Regions from separate parts of the Homo sapiens genome. Here regions 2, 3, 4, 5, 6 and 7 are each linked to region 1. Evidence: promoter capture Hi-C in human tissues and cell types (Jung and others, 2019). All regions are on one chromosome and are shown on one strand. Each heading gives the region's core, a stretch centred on a gene start or on the middle of the fragment in contact. The rest is flanking DNA. Distances are from core to core; before and after follow the strand shown.

Region 1 (3,265 bases), core at 322-2,821:
CGGAGCTGCGACTCGGTCGCGTGGTGCGGAGTCCAGGGCTGAGAAGGCAGCGCACTAAATATCTCTGTATCAGGTAAAAAAGCCGTTTGGTGATGACTCGCCACCAGGCAAATGTTGGGAGTCCCAACGATTTTTCCCGTGGAATGCACCGAGGGTCGCCATGGATGTGCCTGCAGGGGCTGTGAGTATCAGGCAGATTTATCACCAAGCGAGAGTTGGGCGTCTAAAAGGCCCGCCCAGCGTTTTAGAGAACTCAATTCTCTCTGCCAACGTTCATCCAACGGGACTGCTTAGACACGTCCAACTAGCCCTAGGCGTGGGCAGTCGTGCCCCTGCGACCACTCTGGGGGACCGGTCCCTGCGTGTCCTCCCTCTCTGGGATGAGAGAGTTCGAGAAGCCGGGAGAGTAACCCCCTCCCTCGTACCCCCTGACTGTCCTATAGGTGGACCCAGCCGAACTCCGCAGCAGCCCAGGCCAGCGCCCCACCTCCGGGTCACCGGCATGATCCGCCTCTCCCCGGGCCCCCGCGGCCCTGGCACCCGAGGTCAGCGGGCCGTGGGTACAGCTCAGCCGCGGACCCTGCTCCGCGAGTGCGGGAGCTTTGGACTTGAACGCGACGTGCTCGCCCGGCTCCCAACAAACTTGCAATTTCCGCGCGCACCCCTTAAACAGGAACTGTTCCCCAAACCTTGACCCAGCTACCCCGCTGTGCTCTGGCCCGCGGACCTGTGTCCGAACCCGGGCTCGGCTGCCGGAACCGGTTTGAGAAAACAAAAGAGTTGTGGGGCAGTTTTCCCTGTGGGGGGCAGGGGCGCCTCCCAGGTCCCTGCACCCCGACTCCCGGCTGCTCCCCTGGCAACTAATCCGGAGAAGGGAAGTGGTGCCACGAGCCCCCACTGCCCGGGGAGGGAGGGAGAGAGAAGGGGGAACTGGGAAATAAACTGAATTCTCTTACTCTGCCTCCGTTCCTGGACCCCAGACACACCCCCAAAGTATTCCACGGTTTTCTCTTATTATTTTTTTAAACGCCCCCCGGCAAACCTAGGCAGGGATCCTTAGCCGCGAACAGCAGGAAGGAAAGAATCCGAGCAAATCGTGTCACTTTCCGCACAATCGCGGTGTTTGGCAAGCCCCCGGAGCTACTCCACAATATTTACTACCCAAGCGCACGCAGGCTGCAGCGGGCTGCGAGCCGAGCGCGCCCGGGACCGGCCTCCGCCAAGCCGGCCCCGCCGCGGCCCGGCCACCGCCGCTCCCCTCCCAGGATCAAGCAGCAAGAACACGGTGGAAACAAAAGCAGAGCGTTCACCTTGTTGCAATAGTAGGGGTCCAGGCAGGGAGAAGGTCCCAGACAGGGAGCGTCGGGCGCAGCGGCGGGCTGGGCTGGAGGTGGATAAAATCTTACGTCCATTTCACTCTCACATCAAGCAACTCCTTTTCTTTTTCCTTTTTTAAAAAAAAGTGTTCAGCAAAACAAGCTTAGACGGAACAGAGTGAGGTGTCTGGGCTCAGGAGTAAAAGAAACACCTTCCTTCCCTCACATCCGTTTGTGGTTTGTTTAAGAAGAAGAGGAAAAAAAAAAAAAAGAGGGGGGAAAAGCGCTCAACTCTCCCCCAAGCCGCGGCGCGCACCCGTCGGCGCCGAGCGCGCAGCCTGCTCCACCGCCGCCTCTTGGTCCCGCCGCCGCCGCTGCCGCCGCCGCCGGGCAGGTAACTTCATGCGCTCATTGTCCCCCCCGCCCGCCCCCCCATCCCCGCCTCCCGCGCCCCTCGCAGCCCGGCACACGCGCTCGGGCTCTAGGTACTGGGCGTTTTATTGGAGATTCTGAGTTGTTCTGCTTGTAGTTTATTTTCTCCACCTTGGAGGCCCGGGATGTGGGGGGTGGGGGGGTGGGGCGGGGATCCAGAAGGGACAGGGCGGGAGGGGGGCGAGCGTCCCGGGCCGGGCGGGGTAGGGAGCGCGGCCGGACGCGGGCTCGTCAAGGCCCAATGGCTGCTGTTCGGAACCAGAGGCCGGGGACCGGAGAAAGGAGGAGCGGAGAAGGAGAAGGAGGAGAGCACGGCCTGGCTGGGACAGAAGCGGTGGGACCCTGGGAGGCCTCCGCTGTGCCCGTGCCGCGCTCCTCGGGACCAGCGCGTCGCACACAAAGGGGCTGCCGAGCCAGAGCCACCAGCGGCCTCAGGGCACCGTGGGGAGCGCGCAGCTAGGGGGCGCTGTGGCGCACCCCGCCCCGCAGCCCCGCCCCCGGCCCTCCCCGGCCCCACCCCACTCCCACCGCCCTCTCCGCGGCCGTCCCCACCCCTATCTCCGCGACCCCCACTCCTCCTCGGCTGTTCCCCAACCCTGTCACTGTGCTCCCCTCCCTACTCCCGGCCCGTAGTGGAGGTGACTTTCCTGCGCAGCGCCGCTTCTGAGGGCGGAGAACCCACAGGGAGTGCGACCCCTTTGCACGCTGTGAGTGGGCAACTGTCCGAGGGACTCGAGCCGATCGAAGGGTGAGGACCAGCTCGCCTGGGGGTGGACGGCCTGGAAAAGCCGCCCCTCTTTGGCTTCCCTCTGCCGCCTGCAGCCCGCACCCCTCCGAGATTCGTGCCCCACTGGACGGTTTGCGAAGGCTGAGGCTGCCTTGGGGACTCACAAAAGACCACAGGGGTGATTCGAAGTGTAAATAGGGAAACAATCATCAGCACACAATCCGGCTAAAGGGATAACATATGAGTTTGCTTGTTGTCCTTCATGGGATTCTTCTCTTTTTATAGCTGGACGCCCTATAGGGCTCTTGGCAGTCCACGAAAGACCTGGAGTCCGCCTCCCCATTTCTCCGGTCGGTGAGTGGCAGGAGGAAATCGCCAAACATGTTTTCCCGCTTTGCCTCCCCAACTCGGAAACTTGCAACTTGCCGTGTCCTGGAGGTTGAGACAATTTGGGGTCTCTTGGCTGCCGTCCAACAGATTTATCTCTGAGGGCAGTGTCCTTGGTGAGAGGTCCAAGTAGGTGTGGGCGACATTGTCCTCCATCTCATGAGGGAGCAGCCCTGCACACTAGGGCCCAAAACTCTGCGAAGGAGCTTGGAAGTTCTTCATCCGTTCCACTTGTTTTGCTACTCCACACACCCTTCTAGGACATGTTGATTGCCAACTGCTCTGTGCAGCTTTCCCATAGCTGTCTGTTCCCGTGCATTTCGGAGCACCAAGCAAATACGAGCAGAGAGACCTGGAAAAAAAAATGATGAAGACAGTATTAATGATAAAATTAACATGGCTG
Region 2 (3,265 bases), core at 512-3,011, 940 kb after region 1:
TCATTTGTAATATTCAACTGCAACATGGATTTTATTTTATGCCTCCTTCTAAATAAGTCTTTTCTAAATATATTTTTGAGGACTGACGGCACATAAAAGGGAGCTATTAAGGAGAACCATGGGGTGTCTGTGATGGGAAGGACTGATTATCCCTGACAGCCTCCAACTTTGAATTCCTGGAAAGGCAAACCACGAATATTTCAGTGAGCCAAGCATGCAGATACATTTAATGCCACATTGCCCTTCTACCCTTTTCCTCCTCTTTTCCTCTCCCTGGTTTCCCAGCCTCTTCTAAAATGGTGTGTTTATTATGAAGTGTTCTTGGAAGTTTTCTTATGTCATCTGAATCAATATAATATCAGACCTATCAAGATCTATTTTTAAAGGTAAGCTTGTTTGGTCCTCTAGCGGCCTCCTAATTAGAACGCACTATATTTATGTATATGCTTCTTTGCATTGCATTAACAGGATACTCTGGGAAAAGCTTCATGCTTTCAAAACACTGAATTTCAGGGAGGTCCTCGGCAAAATCATGAAACGAATTTGAATCTTACCCTTCGTTCAGGTTTCAGTCTGTGACCTTGGACCCAGATTCCATGAATAGAACATTGTCCTCGCAGGGCAGAGGCTCAATAACTGGACATTTTCTGGGTCCCTGAATTTGTACAATGAGATATCAACTCCAATCTGTGAGCACAATGCTCCAGTGACTGCCAGGAATGGCTGCAATATTGATGCCTTTCAATGTAGATCACATCATTCACCGAGCAGAGCTCAATAAAATGATACTGTAGTTAACAAGTTTTATAACACAAAGTTACTTTAAAACATGGAACTAATCAGAGAGAAGCCTGTTTATGCGTGTCAGAGCCACATTTAATTGTCAATAAATAAACAAAGATTTGCTTCACCTATTGTCATGTATATCAAGTAAGTCATTAATCTAAACTAATGAAGCTTAAGATATATGACAGACAGTTTTTATGGAGCGCCTTCTTAATGATATGTTTGCTTTTCATTTCAATGCCAAGAGAGCCCATTATCAAGAAAGCAGCACATTATGGTCCAAACACATTGAAATCTACAGCACTACTCTTTGTTCGGAGTTCACAATAAGCCGCACTTGCACTTACATATTCATGTACCCTCTGAGATGAAAAGCGTTAGTTAGAAATGAATACGGGTGGGGTGGGGGGAGCAGGGACAATGCATCCAAGGCTTCTGCTCTGTTAAGAGGTTTCCCCCCGCTTTGGATTTTTAAGCTCACCTGGAAAGAAAAAGGAGACTAAATCCAGCCCAATTCATGCCCACATCAATTTTGAAAAATGTGAGTGAATATGTATCATAAACACAGTGAGTCCTAATCATTAAAGAACATCCTGAATCTCTGAAGAACACAAACCCAGGATGCCAAGCTGCAAACAAATAACTACTAGATAATAGAAGCAAGTATTCTACAATTATTTTAATGGGCATGTTAGTTCTCAAGCTTCCATGGTTTTCAAAGAGAAAGTAATTATTTCTTACTCTGCTTCTATTTTGGAAGAGAATAATGTGGACAAGTTAACATCTATCAAACCATAATGATTCCCAACCTGGTGACATGAAAAACTCAGATTAGCTGACCCTTTGGGCTAATGCCACCAAGAGATTCTGCTGCAGGCGCCAAAGACCAAATGAAAGATTCAGTCATGTTGCAGTTTTATTTACTTAAATCTGGAGAAATATGCCTAGCGTCGAACCAGATTACAAGAGGATACAATACATCTATGTGTAGAGCAGGGCAAAAGACTGATTGAATATGGTCAGGGATCTTGGCTATCTTGTTCATCAATGCATTTCCAGAACCTTCCACAGTCCCTGGCTCGTTGTGGGCACATGGTGAATATTTGCTAAGTCTGTGGGAAAAAATCTATGATATAAGGAACAGAAGGATTTTAAAAAGCTTTCCTAGAAATATCCTGCTCTTTTTTCTCTTCCCATTCTGCTACTTACTTCAGTATAAACCGGAAGTAAGCTCTCCACTGTCAAATGTTTTCTCAGTCTGGGCCCTTCTGAAGTTTTAAGTCCATTCCTTCTTGACTTCCCTACTTGCTCAAACCAAAGCAAAATCCAATTCATTCCTTCAAGAGAAAGTCACGGAGCATACAACAAATCACATGGAGATGTGGGCTCTTATAGAGCTCAGGGTCCATATCTGGTTAATTGCAAAACCTTGTAACCAGCACTTTAGTGAGCAAAGTCCAAAATGCCACAGGAGCACAGATTGGAAGGTTCCAGGGCACATGTCATATGAACTCAGCCCAGAAGGGTGACCCAGCTTCTGACAGGCACATGAGTGGGTGTTCCCAGAAGAGTAGAAAGAGCAAATTAATAGAGCACCAACCGTTACAGCACCAGCCATCTGTTCCAGTGAGTCCAAGCACTGGGTATCATGAAATGAGACAAATAAAGGTTATCAAGACAGGTTGTAATTAATTATATCATAACTATTATTAACACTTATTGAGCACCTACTATATGCTTGGCACAGGCACTGACCTCTACCCATAAACCTTATTTTCTGAGTAACTGACTTCTCCCAAGTAACAAGACTGTACCTACCCACCTGGACTCAAAGCCATTCTTCTGGGAGTTCAGAGCTCAGGCAATTAATCAAAATTATTTTTATAAATGTATGCCCTGGACACTTTTAGTAAAACTTCCCCAGACTGCCACAAACCTTCTCTTAGGCCTGTGTGCAGGAAAAGAAGAGAATGTTGAGAAGGGAGATAAAAATTAAGGCAGAGCTCATTTTTACACTCACTAGGGTTTTTATGAAGAAAGTTAAAGTAAGAGGTGACCAAGTTGGCTGTATCAGGACAAGGTTGGCTTCAGGGAAGTGGTATTTTTGTGTTGTTTCCAGAGGAACCATGTATGTCCCAGGGTGCTCAGTGCCATTTCAGGTGTTCATGTGAAAGTAGGATCCTAAGACTGGAAGTAATAACAAAAAGTAAACATCAAAAACATTTAACATCCCCTGTTCCCTCTAGCTCAGACTATGCCATGGGCCTCCTGGACAGAGAGAGACATCCCCTTTCTTAGCACTCTAGAAAAGTGTCCTATATCCTTTTTCAATCATTTATTTATTCCAGGTCATCTCAAACTTTGTAATCAATAAGATATTCCTAAGGTGTAAACCTCAATAACAGGTATTAAACTTATTCTCCAGTAAGGTTGCAGAAAAGGATTTCTGGTTAATAAAGTATTGCGTGTGGTAGACAGT
Region 3 (3,265 bases), core at 469-2,968, 910 kb after region 1:
TAAATTGATGCTTATTGGGCAAGAGTACTGTATAATTGAGGCTGAGCAAAATTAATTGGTGCTTGACATCATGAATTTGTCAGTATGTTAGAAGGAGACGTGGGGAGCATAGAATAAAGGAGAGACGTTTTGTCTTTTTTTCAGTGGAAGATGGAGGGCTAGAAATGAGAAAATGGGCCCTTAGGTTGAACTCCAACCTCATAAAGATGTTGTGAAGACCAAATGAAATGTTATACAATAAGAGAGAGTGCTGTGTGTGTGTACAAAGGGGAGGCATTTCTCTCTGTCTAGCACATTACCCTTTAGATGTTCTCTGCATCTTAGCTGATAGGAAACCTCAGGTCCCCCAACCCACCCTGGCTCTCCTATCTCAGAACCTTTGCTTATGAGATTGCCCTGCCCTTACGTCCTCCCCAAACCCAGGCCTTTGATTTCTATCTCTGTGCTCTGTCGGACTACATTCTTCCTAAGAATGGGGTCATGTCTTTTCATTTTTGTTCTTTTACAATACTTACCAAGATGCCTGCATGATCAGCAAATTTTCCTAGATTGGAAGAACAAGCTTCTCAAGATGACATTCCTAAGAATGGATACATAAATAATGGTTCACTTTATTTTTTTAATTAATTTAATATTTTGAGACAGGGTCTCCCTCTGTCTCCCAGGCTGGAGTGTGGTGGCATGATCTTGGCTCTCTGCAACCTCCGCCTCCCAGGTTCAAGCGATTCTCCTGCCTCAGCCTCCTGAGTACCTGGGATTACAGATGTGCACCACCACACCGGCTAATTTTTGTATTTTGAGTAGAGACGAGGTTTCAACATGTTGATCAGGCTGGTCTTGATATCCGGACCTCAGGTGATCCGCCCGCCTTGGCCTCCCAAAGTGCTGGGATTATAGGCATGAGTCACCACACCTGGACAAATAATGGTTCACTTTAGAGCAGTGACTCTTGAGTTGGGACTGGAGAGGGTGTTGGGAGAGAAGGTAGTGCAGTTTGAAAATAAAGACGCATTTTCCCGTTTTCTGGAATTATTTTTAATTATAATAATTATCAGTTCTGGATTTCAAATCTCATAAAAGCAGGTCATGAAATTTATATTTGTTTTATTAAGTTGGAACATAGGAATTCTTTAACTCTCTTTGCCTCGTGTTTTTTACCTGTTAATTGGGAAAAATAATCTTACCTGTAAGTCCTGAGTAGGATAACATATTACCATATTTAGGACATTATCTGGCACATAGTAATCACTCAATAGAAGTAGTTATTATCGTTGTTGTTACTATTGTTGTTATGTTATTATTAGCACTGCTTTCTAAATCTTTACTCCCTTGAACAAATCTCTGGGCTTCAGTTTCTCACTTGTCTGTAGTGAGCATAACCTTTAATTTCCCTTCCAGATATTAACTTCTAAGATTATAAGCCTTTCAATATTTATATATTTCAGATTCACCCAGCACTATATGAGAATTTCAGACCTCTAATATATTCTTCCATATAGCCTGTATATTGACATTATAATATTATGTGTATATTTGTATGTACAGTGTGTGTGGAGTGCAATAAAAAAGTTTGAGCCAACTAAAATTTATTTTTAAACATTCTAAAGCAATAATCCAAACCTTTACAATGTTAAAAATATTTTTGTTTGACTTTAAACTGATAATACATTAAGTTTGAGTGAAATTAAAGTGGTTTCAGAGAAATTTAAGTAAGATGTGTTTTCACCAATATTTATTTTCTTCCTGAGATATTTTGAAGTTCTTACTTCCTATGATTCTATAAACAACACTAAATTTAACCCCAAACCCAATATGTTGCTATAGAGAAGTAATTTTTGATACATCATCACTTTTCTCTTGTTCTTAAAATATGATATTTTCAGCTTATCTATTTTCAAATCATTTCTAAATAATAGTTTGCTGTGGATGATTGATTATAGGAATTTTGCTCATACGGTACCTCCAAAGCATGACTTTTTAAATCACATACTCCTTTTACTTGCAATGTTTAAAGCGAATTTCATATCGTTACCCAATTTATCATTTGGAGATAGAACAAGATATTTACATGGATTCCGTCTATACCTTTGCAACTGAAAAACTATGGCCAAGTCTTATTAAAACCATGCATGCATGGTTATCACAGCTGAATAGCAATAGAGAGGAACCGTTTTAAATATGCATATTCAAGAGCATACACACAGACATCAAAGCCGAGTAGCACATGGTGGCATACAGAGCATGCGCTCTTTTCCGTGCGACATTTCAGGGTCTCTGTGAGAGTGCACTCTATGGGCTGCCTACTGCAGGACAGCACCCTCACCTGCCTCCACCTCTCTGCCCGCCAGCGTTCTCATTCACCTTTGTTCCTTCTCCTCCCCTAGCTTCCCCAGAAACCTGATTTTGGTTTCACTTTAGCAATAGCATGATTTCTGCTGTATTCTAGTACATGAGAATCCCAGCAAATCCCCAAGGTCCAGTCCTTGTCGTTGTCTAGTTCCAAATACTATCTGGGCTCTCTCAACCATTCTCCTGGCTTCTGCTGTCACTTATACAGTAGTGGACTCCAAGACAGGATCTCTTGTCTACACATGCCTTGTAAGCAGCAGATCTGTACAGCCAATAACCTTCAACTTAGGTACTCAACAGGTAAAACAAGTTCCACATTCCAAGAGAAGCTCAATGTCTTTCCTTCAAAACACTATATTGATATCATATGCGCCATCTTGATTAATGACACCAAATTCCTTGATACTCAATTTCCTCATGTATAAACATTAAAAAGCTGAGCTTAGTATTCTGCAAACCTATTAATCTATGAGGTAGGAATCAAATGATAAAGCATCACTGGGAAACAGCAGATCAATGAGCGATGAATGAAGTAGAAGATATCTACAAGGAAGCAGGCAAATCTATGTCAGCTGAGCAGTGCTTAGATGAATAAAACTTAGATAAGCAGAAGAATGTCTGGAGGATAGAGAAGAAGAGATCTGCAAGTTGAATGTCATGAAGAGATGGGGTAGGGAGACTTCAAGTAGGAGTTTAGACTCAGAGGAATAGAGGCTGCAGGCTGGGGAGATTTAGGAAGTGAAGACAGGCTATGTAGGCCCAGACTGGGAAGGGCTTAAAAAGTCTACAGAGTAGCTTGGATTCAATGTCATAGGCAACCAAGTGATATTACAACTTATCAGTAATGAGGCATCACTATGAGAAGCGTGGACGGTAGCATGCAAGATGCTGAGAATGGAAGAAAATAGATGGAACA
Region 4 (3,265 bases), core at 237-2,736, 840 kb after region 1:
ACTAAGAGGAAACTTATTTATAAGCTATTCATCAAGTGTGGTGGGTTTTACATCTTTTAAGCCTATTGATTTGACGACACATAAATGGAGCTGTGCTTCTCTTCTCTAAAATGTTTTCTGGTCATTATGTATTTATTTCATTGATTCTATTTTTAATACTATAAATCATTTTTATATCTGGAACTTCTCTAAATTCTTCACATTTTTTTGTCTTCTGAACTTCTGAATGTGACCGTCTACTGAAGTAAGGTAAATGTGTAGTTTTATCTATGTATGTAAAATACAATTTTATACATTTTATTAATAAATTCTATTTTTAGTTTTATTTTTCAGTGTCATCCTTATACAAAACCTCCTCCTCCACTTAGTAACAGCTGTTTGGGGTCATAAACTTTGTTTTGTTTAATGGTTAGGAAGGTTTGCCTCAAGCAAGGTCTCCCATCTTGGGCCCAGTCAATAGGTATATTTGTTCCTAAGGAAAAGGAAACATTTACTCTGATTATCTTTAAAGGGGATATATAAAGCTTACATATTTCCCCTACAATTACACCTTTGATCATATTGCCTAAAATTGACAATTGTGTTTTACAATTGGAACAGTGGAGTTAATTAAGTAAACCCTAGGATAAATAGAAGAATCTAAACAAGGTAGTGAATATTTAATCTGATTCCAACTGTAGCGAAGCACCTTTCTAAGAATAGGAAGTTGTACATTACATAGCAAAGGAGATTTTCATTCATTTTTGTTGGTGTCATTTTGTGACCACACGGCCTAATTTCCAAATTGCTTCAGCTAACTTTGTCATGCTAAATAGCTGGAGCAATTATAAATTAAATAATCAGGAGAAACTCAATTTCTGGTTTCCACAGGGAAATTCTAAATTCAGAAATTTGAAGTGGAAGTTGAAAACGTAGCTACTATGAGTCACTCTGAAGTTTCTGATGCCCTTAAATCTATGTAAAGGCCATGCTTTTTTTTTTTTAAGAAGAAAGAAAAGAAATGGGAGTCAAAGTATAGTCTTACTCATTGCTGATTCTAAAGAAATTCTCCTTTAGAAAATTTCCAAAACATGTTTTTTTTTAATTTTTTAAACAATAAGAGCATTCTGAAAGCTCTAAGAAAGAGAACAAACAGATCTTTGAGAATTAGTTCAACTTATATACCTTTTTTTTTGTAATTAAGAACAAACTAAAGCTAAATGCATTGGTTAGTTTCTTAACATGAAATTATGTATGAACCATGTATAAAATATATTTAAGTGGATAATTTGGTATTTTTACCTTTTTCACCTATACATAAGAACAAATATTTAAAACAAATATTAGTCATAAAAATGATAACCTAACATGATGCTATGAAATAATTCATCTGCAAGGAACTGCAAGAATGAAAAACTCTATCACTAATAAATAGTAGATGGTAAAGCAAGCAGCCATGGTCAATAGTAAGAAAGTACCATTATTACTAAATGGTACTATATGCTCATAACGCATGTCATTTGTTATATATTCATTGATCCAATAAAAATTTATGGAATTCCTATTAAGAAATCTAGCCAGGATGCAAGATAGGAATGTAAACAAATAAGCACAGTGTAATAGGTACAATAGCAAAGGATGTTTCACATGATGAGAAATAAAATGATTTTAACTGAAGACATAGGCAAAGCCTGAGAGAGAAGGCCATCTTTGTTCTGAGCCTTGATAAATGAATTGGATTCATCATGCATTTCTTCTGCACTCTAGACAGAGGTAAAGAGGTGTTACAATCTCAACCCAAGTGTCCAAATCTAACCCCACTTCAGAAAAACTCAAGATACTTTTAAAGACTTTAGCTTTCTTTCCTGAAAAGTTTTGATTCAGTACATCTAGAAAGGGACCCAAGAATTTGTATTTATTTCTAAACTCCCAGGTGATATTATGTGAAGTTTGGTGTGAATTGGGTAGGAGGTGGGAATGGGCAGTAAATTTTGTCGTGAAGATGTACTGGCCCTCATTTGTGAATACCTTTTTTTCTAAAAGACAATCTAAAGCAGTTTTCTCAACCTTTCATGTGCATATGAATCACCCCCTGGTAAAGACAAATTCTGATTCAGTAGGAGACTGCATTTCTAGCGAGCTCCCAAGTTGTACTGATGCTGCTGGTCTACGGACCATACTTTGCTGCTCCAGTTTGATAAATTGACAGGTAAAAGGGCACAACAAAAATTAAGAATGTAAGTGTAGGAAGGTAGAGGAAACACCCCTGGTTTCCAAGTTGATGGGGAGACACTGTTGAATGTTTAGAATTTTTAATACTCTCTGGTCTTGGTGTATCTTGGATATTCAGGAGGGAAATAAGTTGCTTTTATTAACTTCACAAATTAACTTTCTACTAAATAGAGAATAGTGCAATGGTAAAAACTATGTATTCTGAAGTCCAATTGAATGGCTTCAAATTCTACCTTCATATTTTGATAGCTATGATAGTGTGAGCAAATAATAATAATAATAATAATCTGCTCGTACCACATTTCCTTATTTGTAAAGTGGAGATAATAAGAGTACTTACCTCTCCAGAGATGGGGAGGATTACTAGTTAACATATGGAAAGCGTGAAGAGCATGTTCTGGCCCAGTCAAGCAATATAACAACATCTGCCACTTTCTTATCTTTGTTTGTTTTCACAGATATCAATATGAGGTCATATTGAGAACTGAAAGAAATGTTCAACTTGTTATTTTTCTCACAACTCCCTTGGCTTTCTGGTAAATCTGGCTTTCAACCCTGTTCCTTTTTTTTTTTTTTTTTTTTTTTTTTGAGACAAAGCTTCGCTCTTGTTGCTCAGGTTGGATGGAGTGCAACGGCTCGATCTCGGCTCACTGCAACCTCCGCCTCCTGGGTTCAAGCAATTCTCCTGCCTCAGCCTCCTGAGTAGCTGGGATTACAGGCATGCACCACCACACTCGGCTAATTTTTTGTATTTTTAGTAGAGACAGGGTTTCTCCATGTTGGTCAGGCTGGTCTTGAACTCCTAATCTCAGATGATCCACCCACCTTGGCCTCCCAAAGTGCTGGGATTACAGGTGTGAGCCACCAGGCCTGACCCCTGTTCCTTCTTATTGCAACATGATGAATCTCCCTTCCATTTATTCCTCATCTATCTGTCTAGTCCCATCATATTTAAAAATCTTATACCTTTACCCAGCTTACTTTTTCTTCTCCCATTTTTAGATCACCTAATCCTCTATGAATCTGTGAAACTCTACCTCTCAACATTTGTTTG
Region 5 (3,265 bases), core at 363-2,862, 540 kb after region 1:
TCATAAGTTTTTCAGTTTTACAGGATGGAAAACTTTCTCTTTGTACTTAAAAATCAGAGAGAGAAAAACACACACTATTTTATTTGAAAAGCAAAGACGATGATGGATTAAAGCAGATGTAGAGTGTTTGCAGTTATATAAGACTATTAGGGACCCTGCTTGTTCTGGTTTTTGTAATTTGTCCATGTCCTACTTTATATAACTCAATCCATTGTGAGCCAAACATGAAATAAGTGAATACAGTATTCCATATTTCACTTTGTCAGCAAATTTAAAAAAAAAGGTAGAACAAACACAATAGTCATCATGGTTCTTGAATACAGAACGAAGCATTTTTCAAATCGCAGGGACCTGTAAGAAAAAGAAGGTTAAGGAGATTTTTCTTTAAACAATGAGCAGATGTGTTTGTTACTGTTGATGGACAAGCTTATCCATTTACTTCAATTAATAACAAGAGTGAACCCATCAATACGTAAGCTTGTCCTGATGCTTTGAATTTTTTTCCTATTTGACAGGTAATAGTGGGGCTGGGAAAATGTCACAACAATTTAGTCCTGCCTCACTGGCTTTAACTAGTTCAGTGACAATGGGAATGCATCTTGCTAAGATTCCTTATGATTCATAATAACGCTGCATCTGTCGACCCTTACAGAGGGTTTAAAATCTGCGACAATTAATGGCATAAAATCAAATCTTTTCATGGGTTATTCATTTGGGCACTAAGTAAAATCAAGTTAAAATATTAATGAACAGTATGAAAATGTGGAAACTTTCTTTAGGAACCTGTCTTTTCACATTGAGTCATAAATGAAACCAACTATGCTTGACAAAGAAAGGCCATTTCATCATATGGTCAAGCTATTAAACCCTTCCTATGTTCTAAAAGATCTTTTCTAAAATCTAACAGATTTTGCCAGAGAAACCCTAGTGAAAGCCAATGATCTCACAAATTTTAGCATATTAGAGCAAATTATGCCTCCAGCAATATTGACAATGGTTACCAAAATATAATCATATCAGTATATTGCTTCAGTGCTAGCTGAGCCAATAAATAAATGTTTTCCTTTGAACAGTAAAGCTTGAATGATTAATAACTACATGGAATGGGGAGGGGGAAATTGGTATTTTTTTTAGAGGAAAATGAAGGCCATTTATACTATTCCGGTGGCAAAGGGTTTAGTACAGGAACCAGTCTCACATGCTCCATAGAGGTGTGGCAGAACTCGGAGAATGCTCAGAGTGCATGGGCGAATAACATGCTTTTTCAGAGCAGGAGCAACATATTCACATCTGTCTCCACAGCATCTAGCACAACCCCTCTAACACATAGGGAACTGGACATGCATTTTCTAGCAAGCAACATTCTTCTAGACCACTCCCAGCAATCCAGTTAACCAAATGTCTCTAAGACTAAATGCATGAAATGTAAGGCTGGTAGGAGGCTTAGAGGACAGCCTTACTTAGCTCTCCCTAAAACTTATCTTCTCACAACTGTGCAGTCCCTGCCGAATTCTGTGTTTTCACCTCCATGAGGCTATCCCTGATACCCCTGAGTACCCCAAAAATGAATCACATATTCCCTCGTCTCTTTTACATTTGTGCCTGTATAACAGAGCACTGATTGGGTTAATTCTGTTTGTCTCTGTAACCCCACTTGAGGTCTACAGACGCTTTTTCCTATTTATCTTTGAATCATCTGATTTTAGAAACCAGCATGTCTCTAGTCCTGAGTAAATGTTTGAATTGTGTCGAATTGTTGATGCCAAGCCTAAATTCTTTAACCAAACTTGTCACAGGAGAGCTAAAGTTTCTAATTTTGCTTTTAATTGGCACATAATAATTGTACATATTTATGGGGTACAGTGTGATGTCTCAACACATGTACACACTGTAGAAATCAAGTCAGAGTATTTAGCAGATCCATCACCTCATGCATTTATCATCTATTTGTCTTAAAAACATTCAAAACACTCTTCTTCCAGTATATTTCTTACTCTGAAATGTCCAATAAAATATGTTGCCCAGAGATGGGACAAAATAGAGTTAAAACAACTGTTATAGGTCAAATTGTGTTCCACTGACCACCTCTGCAATTAAAAAAACTCTTATGTTAAAGCCTGAATCTGTAGTACCTCAAGATGTGTCTTTATTTGGCAACAAGATCTTTGTAGACAAAGATCAAGCTAAAATGAGATCATTAGGAGAGGCCCTTATCCCATATGACTGGTGTCCTTACAAGAAGGGAAAATTTGGACACAGGCACATACAGAGAGAAGATGACATAAAAACTCAGGGAGAAATGGCCATTTCCAAGCCAAACAGAGGGGCTTAGAGTTGACTATTCTACCACAGCCTTCAGAAGGAGCTCACTCTGCCAACACCTTAATCTTAGACATCAATCCTTCAGAATTACGAGACAATACACTTCTGTTGTTGAAACTACCCAGTTTGTGATACTTTGTTATAGCAGCCCTTGCCAACTAAGACAAGTATCCAATTTCTTTGGCCCATTAAAAAGAAAAGCTAGAGAGAAAGTAGTTTGTAATGGCATGATGGCATTGTCAGGGAAAGTAGATAATACAAGGACTCATATATGACCTCTACAGAATATTATAAAATAGAAAAGCATGCATTCTTCCCTCCTATAGAAAAACATTATCTTCATGCTATTTCATGCAATTGCTATCTGGCACTAGCTCAGTGTACAAATGTTTTGTGTAATATGAAAATGGATCTTCAAGTAGGATGGAAAATTACATTTGTTATAATCAATCAACCTGCTCTGAAAAATAGGTTATTAAAAATGCCTTCATTTGATTACCTGGGTGAAAATATAAATGGAAAATAAAAATTCTAAATGCAGTGTAAGTATTGATAATGTGATGACTAGAGGAACTGTATTCATTTCTAACATTAATAAATTTTAAAGTTTTATTAATACCTACAATAATACAGGTTTGTTATATTAACCATGATTGACTTGGGCTTATCAACACAATGACTGTAAGTTAAACTAAAGGGGCTGCTATTTCTGAAATGAAAATAGAGACAAAGAAACAAAGAAAGGTGTGTTTACTGAGATAACATATGAGTTGGGATGAGAGAAACAGTGCACAAAAATGCTTATTTTAAAATTATTCATTTAAAATACTTGACATAATGTACCTGAGAAGGCAAGGTAGGTTATGTATTAGTCTTTGATTGGTTATACAGTTTTGTTTTTAATGGTTTTAACTTGATTTCAGCCTCAGAGAGTTTAAATTTG
Region 6 (3,265 bases), core at 214-2,713, 550 kb before region 1:
ATTATTGTATACTGCTGTAGACTTTATCAATACTCTATACTTGGGCTGCACTAAATTTATTTAAAAATTTTTCTTTCTCGAATTATAAATTAACCTTAGCTTCCTGTAACTTTAATTTTTTAACTTTCTGACTCTTGTAATAACATAGTTTAAAACACAAACATTGTACAGCTGTATAAAATATTTTCTTTCTTTATATCCTGATTCTATAAGCTTTTTTCCTATTTTTTAAATTTTTAGTTTTTAAAAATCGCTTGTAAGTTTGTTAAAAACTGAGACACACACTCACATTAGCCTAGGCCTGCACAGGGTCAGGATCATCAATATCACTGTCTTCCACCTCCACATCATCCCACTGAAAGGTCTTCAGAGGCAGTAACATGCATGGAGTTGTCATTTCCAATGGTAATAGTGCCTTCTGGAATACCTCCTGAAGGACCTGCCTGAGACTGTTTTACAGTTAACTTTTTTTGTAAGTAGAAGGATATACTCTAAAGGGTATAACACAGGAAATACATAAATGAGTAACATAGTCATTTATTATTATCAAGTATTATGTACCATGCATAATTGTAGATGCTATACTTTTTTATATATGACTGGCAGTGCAGTAAGCTTATTTACACCACCATCACCACAAAGTAATGAGTTGTTCTGTGTGACGGCAGCTATGATGTCACTAGACAGTAGGAATTTTTTAGCTCTTTTATAATCTCATGGGACCACTATTGTATATGTGGTTCATCATTGACCAGAACAGGCAGCACATGACTGTATACCATTGTAGCATTAGACAGAATAGGTTCACTGCTCGAAAAATTCTTTAATGCCTGTTCTTCCTTCCCTTCTAGAAACTCCTGGCAACCAATAATTTGCTTTTGCTTTTGTGTTTTCTTTAGCGTCAGGATGTCGCTCTGTTGCCCAGGCTGGAGTACAGTGGCACAGTCATGGTTCACTGCAGCGTCCATCCTCCTGCCACAGCCTTCTAAGTAGCTGGGACTACAGGCATGCACCACCACACCTAGCTAGTTTAAAAAGAAAATTTTTTTTTCCCCCAAAACGGAGTCTGGCTCTGTCACCAGGCTGGAGTGCAGTGGTGCGATCTTGGCTCACTGCAACCTCCTCCTCCTGGGTTCAAGCAATTCTCCCTGCCTCAGCCTCCCGGGTAGCTGGAATTAACAGGCATCCACCACCATGCCCGGCTAATTTTTGTATGTTTACTAGAGACAGGGTTTTGCCATGTTGGCCATGACAAACATGACAACATGCCATGTTGGTCAGTTGAACTCCTGACTTCAGGTGATCTGCCCACCTCAGCCTACCAAAGTGCTGGGATTACAGGCATGAGCCACTGTGCCTGGCCAAAACAATTTTTTGCATAGGCAGGGTTTTCCTATGTTGCCCAGGCTGGTCTTGAACTCCAGGCCTCAAGCAACTCTCCAGCTTCAGCTTCCCAAAGTGCTGGGATTAAAGGCCTCAGCCACTGTGCCTGGCCTAATATTTTATTATCTCCACAATTTTGCATTTTTCAAAATGTCGTATAGTTGGAATCATAAAGTATGTAGCCTTTTGAGATTGGCTTCTTTCACTTAGTAATATCCACTTAAGTTTCCTCCATGTCTTTTCATGTCTTTATAGTTCTTTTTTTTTTCCCAGTGCCGCACAGTATTTTTTTTGTTAGACATGATTCAAGAAGTAATATAACAAGCCACTAGCTCCTTTTAGCTAATCGGTGGTGAAAGAACTTTCAAAGTTCAACACATGTTCAATTTGTGGATTGTTATTTATAATTATAAAGATTTTCATGCTGTATTTTGTTTAAATCTAGAATGTTTAACAAATTATGAAATAATAAATATTAAAGGATGACTCAACAAGTATATCAGAACATATAATTTTAGTACCATTCAAAGCTTTCATAGGCTTTACTTATTTAAACTAAGCTTTCATATCTCCAAGCATCTTTGGGAATACTCTTGACATTGATTTTAGGGCTAGGTTGAGATACTACTATGAACTTCATTTTTAAAATGATACATTTCCAATAAAGTAAAAAGTTGGTAGAGATTGGTCATACAACTTATTACCAAACTTGTCTCTAATGACATATAGCTATTTCAGAAAGTCAGATCTAATTGTAAAGGATAAAGTATTTCCATCAGTGAGATACTTCATATGATGTAGGCCATCAAGACAGCCCTGAGAAGAGGATACTTGAGCATGAGTAGCATTGATAAATGCTAGAGTGTCAGAGTGTGTCAGAGTGATTTTGGCAAGTTTGTTTAACAGTTACAAATTACATTACCTTGTCATCATCGATTTATGTCAGTGATAAACTGTGCTATTTTCATAATTTCTGATATTTTAAAAGTATTTAGCATAAACCCCTTCCTATACTTGCTGCAATGAAGATAAAGATGATTTCAGTGGGACATGCTTAGTATTAATTTTTTAGGTGTTTTTCTGATATGTGACTTTTATATGAATATGGGTAAGGTTTTTTCTTATGCAAATAAAATATTTTTACTTGGACTAATTAGTAAAAGAATAATGAAAATGTAAAATTTATTCATTTTAGAATGCACTTTGAAAATATTAATTTATTGTGGCAGCACTATGAAGTGCTGGTTATAAGACATGTAGAATGGTACTTCTACAATTTTTTTGTGATAGCCTTAAAAGTATTTAGAATATCAAATATAGTTTTGATTTGCAGATTTCCTTTGGAAAATGTATTGCTGATGTGTTTGAAATTAAACTTTCTTACATAAATCTTCATTGTTTTAGTTTCTTTTTGGAAGTACTGGATTTAGCTTATAAATTATATAAGAATATAAAGTAAGTATAGCATATTGTTAGAATTTTCTTCTTTTCTTTTTCAGGCTCAAACTGCTTTTTCTGCAAACCCTGCCAATCCAGCAATTTTGTCAGAAGCTTCTGCTCCTATCCCTCACGATGGAAGTAGGTTTATACTTTGAGTTCATTCTCTGTGAACAGAAATATTGTTATCTTCTTTTGCTCATATAAGGAATCCAAGATTTTTTTTTGGACAGGCTGCATAAAATTGGTAGTTAAGCTCAAATAGTTATGAATAAGAAAAAAAAGTTTACTTCAAAAAATAACCCTTTTTCTAATTAAGATAGTGAACTGTGGATATGGGGATGTATTTCATGGCTTAATGAAAATTAATTTTAGACTGACTTGTAAATCCCTAACGTGGCTGATTCATTTATGAATGAATTATATATATGAATTCACATATGAG
Region 7 (3,265 bases), core at 360-2,859, 520 kb after region 1:
CTCAATATTAAATAAAACTGAAGCCATTTTTCATCATGATGTAGGGGTTAAGAAGAAAAACTGGGGTTCATCAAGTAATTTCTCAATTTCAGGCAGAAGTCAGAGTAGGCAAACCACAGATGCTTCTGGCTAATTTTTGGTTTGAACATCCAATTTCATTTTCCTTGATGACAGGCCAAAATTCAAAACTTCGATTTTGAGAAGCAAAATTCAACTGCGCTGACTATTCTTAAAATTGGCTGCAGAATTGCAGTTTAAGGACTAGCTTATTTGAAAGAGATTTTGGCCTTTGTAGAATAATAGGGAAGATGGCTATATTTGGGTATATGGGTTGTAGTTACTTATTTTCAACTTGAAAATGAAAAATCATTTGCCAAAACCCAAATTTCCTTTTCTTCATTGATCTTCTATTGCCCAAGATACTTTGGAAATATGAATCAAGGTTTCTTTTCTTTTTAAAACAAACCAACCACCCTAATTATAATAAGCAGATGAAACTTAGTGGCAACAAAAGTAATATTTGATGGGAATGAAATCTTCCATCTTGAGTACATATTTTTAGAACAGTAGATTATTGGGTTTACATTATATGCTATAGGAGGCTCTTCATTTTGATATTTGATGAAACACATGTAACTGTTAATAAACTTTCTTGGACTCTACATTGGAAATGGTATATATTTTTGACATGGAACTTAGGAAGAAATAGAGGGATATATGATTGAGAACTAATCATTTTCAGATTCTAATAACACTATTAGCTTTATTTTTCTAAGCACTTAGCTTCAGTTTTAATACTGAATCTTGATTTTTTATTGTTGGGATTCTGGATGATGATGCTTCTGACATCTTAGGTTAAAAATTTCAAACAATTTTTTTTTTTTTTAAGACGGAGTCTCACTCTGTCACCCAGGCTGGAGTGCAGTGGCATGATCTTGGCTTACTGTAAGCTCCGCCTCCCAGGTTCACGCCATTCTCCTGCCTCAGCCTCCCGAGTAGCTGGGACTACAGGCGCTGGCCACCACGCCTGGCTAATTTTTTTGTATTTTTAGTAGAGATGGGGTTTCACTGTGTTAGCCAGGAAGGTCTCGATCTCCTGACCTCGTGATCCACCCGCCTCGGCCTCCCAAAGTACTGGGATTACAGGCGTGAGCCACCATGCCCGGCCCAAACAATATTTTTTTAAAAAACGTTTTTCTTGTGTACTTAAGAAGGTAACTGTGGTTTTCAGCATCATTCTCTTATGACAAATGAGTACCATTCTATTGTTAATAACTTGGTACCTATTGAATTTGTGATTCTTTTTAAGTGATCTGTAAAGGGAATGTTGGCATAATTTTACAATACTTTAAGAGGATAGTAAACCACACATAACCATTATTGTAAATAAACTAAAAATATAAAAATTAGCTCTTGGAGATTGATAGAGTAGAAAATATTTACACATTGTACATATTCCTAGCAAATGTTGAACTTCCCATATTAAAATATTTTAAGAGGATAGTAAACCACACATAGCCATTATTGTAAGTAAACTAAAAATATAAAAATTAGCTCTTGTGAAATCGATAGAGTAGAAAATATTTACACTTTGTACATATTCCTTGCAAATGTTAAAATTCCCTATATTATTAAGTATTGGCTACAACCAATCAGCTAGAGAAGATAACTTTTTAAATTAACTACTTAGACAAACTATAATCCAATCCTAATTACAATTGAAGTGAAATCAAAATTCAAAAGAAAATGCAATACCAAAATAACATTTGGAAATTCAAAAGTGATGAACAAATGTCAAAAAAATTAAAAATTCCAAATAAAATGAAAAGTCAAAGGAAAACTTACTTTCTTTACAATCTCACTTTTAGAATTTTTCAGATAGAAATTATTAAGCAGAAATAAAAGTTCATGTGAAAAAGGACATCCATTGCGAAAATATATAGCAAAAACTGGAAAATGATCCAATTGTCCAACAATATTGAATGCTTATGTAAATTATGGCATCTAATTTCAGCAGATCATTATGCACTCAGTAAAATATTTAAATTATTCAAAATTGTATGTACCTTGTGTTATTATGTATTTGCATTTGGAAAAACTAGGAGTAATTCAATTAAAATGAAAACATAAAAAAGAATTTTTAGAAAAAATTATAGGTACAGTTTTCTTAAAAATCCTATTATCACGTGGTCTTTAGTACCTTAAAATGCTAACCTTGAAAAACTGCTTTTATTGAAAAATCTTACCATAAAGTAGCAGAAGTTTTATATTATCTAGCAAGTATAGAACTTCTTGCATTCAGAATTATCTAATTTAAAATTAGATGATATTTCTAAAGTTCATTGTAAAGCAGTTGTTTAAAACATGGAAAAAATGCATTTCCTTGTGAAATGATATATTAATAAGTAGAAATATTGTACAATTACCATGGCAAGAGAAGAAACACTGTTGTAAAAATGATTAAAACAGGTTTTGACATGAGAGAAATTTTTTTCTCCTTAACGTTGGAGAACTTATCTTTACCACACTTCACCAAAGAAGTTGTACAGATGGCAAATTAACATATGAAAAGATGCTACACATCGTATGTCATCAGGGAAATAGAAATTAAAACAACAATGAGATACCACTACACATCTACCAGAATGGCCAAAATTCTCTGACTGACAAACACCAAATGCTGGTGAGAATGTGGAGCAACAGGAACTCTCATTCATTGCTGATGGAAATGCAAATTGTACAGCCATTTTGAAAGACAGTTTGACAGTTTCTTATGTCCTCACAAAAACCTGCACATGAATGTTTCTAGCAGGTTTATTCATAATTGCTAAAGCTTGAAAGCAACCAATTTGTCCTTCAGTAAGTGAATGGATTAATAAACTGTAATACATTCAGACAATAGAATATTATTCAGCAGTAAAAAGAAATGAGCTATCAAGCTATAAAAAGACACAGAGGAACCTTAAATGCATATTACTAAGTGAAAGAAGACAATCTGAAAAAAACTACATACTGTATGATTCCAATGTATAAGATTCTGAAAAAGGAAATCTATGAAGACACTAAAAAAAAATCAGTGGTTGCCAGGGGTTTGGGGAAAGGGAGGGAGGAATAGGCAGAGCATAGGGGATTTCTACGGCAGTGAAACTACTCTATATAATACCATAGTCGTGAATACATATTACTCTGCATTTTCCAAACCCATAGGATGTATGACACCAAGAGTGAACATTATTGATAACTGTGGACTTTGGGTGATAATGAT

The links. Contacts are between HindIII fragments. The study calls those that stand out against the background at their distance.
Region 2: a contact is called between a fragment that was not itself captured here and the fragment with the promoter of TOX in region 1, in 2 of the 25 tissues and cell types used here (IMR-90 fibroblasts and lymphoblastoid cells).
Region 3: a fragment that was not itself captured here is called in contact with the fragment with the promoter of TOX in region 1 in 2 of the 25 tissues and cell types used here (lymphoblastoid cells and mesendoderm cells).
Region 4: a fragment that was not itself captured here is called in contact with the fragment with the promoter of TOX in region 1 in 3 of the 25 tissues and cell types used here (heart left ventricle, lymphoblastoid cells and spleen).
Region 5: a contact is called between a fragment that was not itself captured here and the fragment with the promoter of TOX in region 1, in 3 of the 25 tissues and cell types used here (dorsolateral prefrontal cortex, lymphoblastoid cells and mesendoderm cells).
Region 6: a contact is called between a fragment that was not itself captured here and the fragment with the promoter of TOX in region 1, in 1 of the 25 tissues and cell types used here (IMR-90 fibroblasts).
Region 7: a contact is called between a fragment that was not itself captured here and the fragment with the promoter of TOX in region 1, in 1 of the 25 tissues and cell types used here (dorsolateral prefrontal cortex).

The regions. Positions count from the first base shown.
Region 1 is chr8:59,117,576-59,120,840 of GRCh38, forward strand. It overlaps TOX (thymocyte selection associated high mobility group box), which reads right to left and starts at 1,572. Exons shown (of 9, transcript NM_014729.3): 1 at 1,311-1,572. The coding sequence starts at 1,412. TOX-DT (TOX divergent transcript) reads left to right here and starts at 1,635. Exons shown (of 3, transcript NR_149031.1): 1 at 1,635-1,710; 2 at 2,382-2,496; 3 at 2,761-3,265. RefSeq lists a silencer at 2,097-2,316. The HindIII fragment of the contact is 9,409 bases long and covers 1-3,265 here.
Region 2 is chr8:60,059,320-60,062,584 of GRCh38, forward strand. All of the region lies in intron 2 of LOC105375861 (a long non-coding RNA gene), which reads left to right. Among named protein-coding and RNA genes, the nearest start is that of CA8, 220 kb to the right of the region's middle. The HindIII fragment of the contact is 4,828 bases long and covers 1-3,265 here.
Region 3 is chr8:60,027,673-60,030,937 of GRCh38, forward strand. No RefSeq gene overlaps it. Among named protein-coding and RNA genes, the nearest start is that of CA8, 250 kb to the right of the region's middle. The HindIII fragment of the contact is 5,129 bases long and covers 1-3,265 here.
Region 4 is chr8:59,957,972-59,961,236 of GRCh38, forward strand. No RefSeq gene overlaps it. Among named protein-coding and RNA genes, the nearest start is that of CA8, 320 kb to the right of the region's middle. The HindIII fragment of the contact is 3,620 bases long and covers 1-3,265 here.
Region 5 is chr8:59,658,865-59,662,129 of GRCh38, forward strand. No RefSeq gene overlaps it. Among named protein-coding and RNA genes, the nearest start is that of TOX-DT, 540 kb to the left of the region's middle. The HindIII fragment of the contact is 3,682 bases long and covers 1-3,265 here.
Region 6 is chr8:58,568,005-58,571,269 of GRCh38, forward strand. SDCBP (syndecan binding protein) reads left to right here. Exons shown (of 9, transcript NM_005625.4): 3 at 2,883-2,961. Among named protein-coding and RNA genes, the nearest start is that of SDCBP, 16 kb to the left of the region's middle. The HindIII fragment of the contact is 3,749 bases long and covers 1-3,265 here.
Region 7 is chr8:59,637,636-59,640,900 of GRCh38, forward strand. No RefSeq gene overlaps it. Among named protein-coding and RNA genes, the nearest start is that of TOX-DT, 520 kb to the left of the region's middle. The HindIII fragment of the contact is 6,113 bases long and covers 1-3,265 here.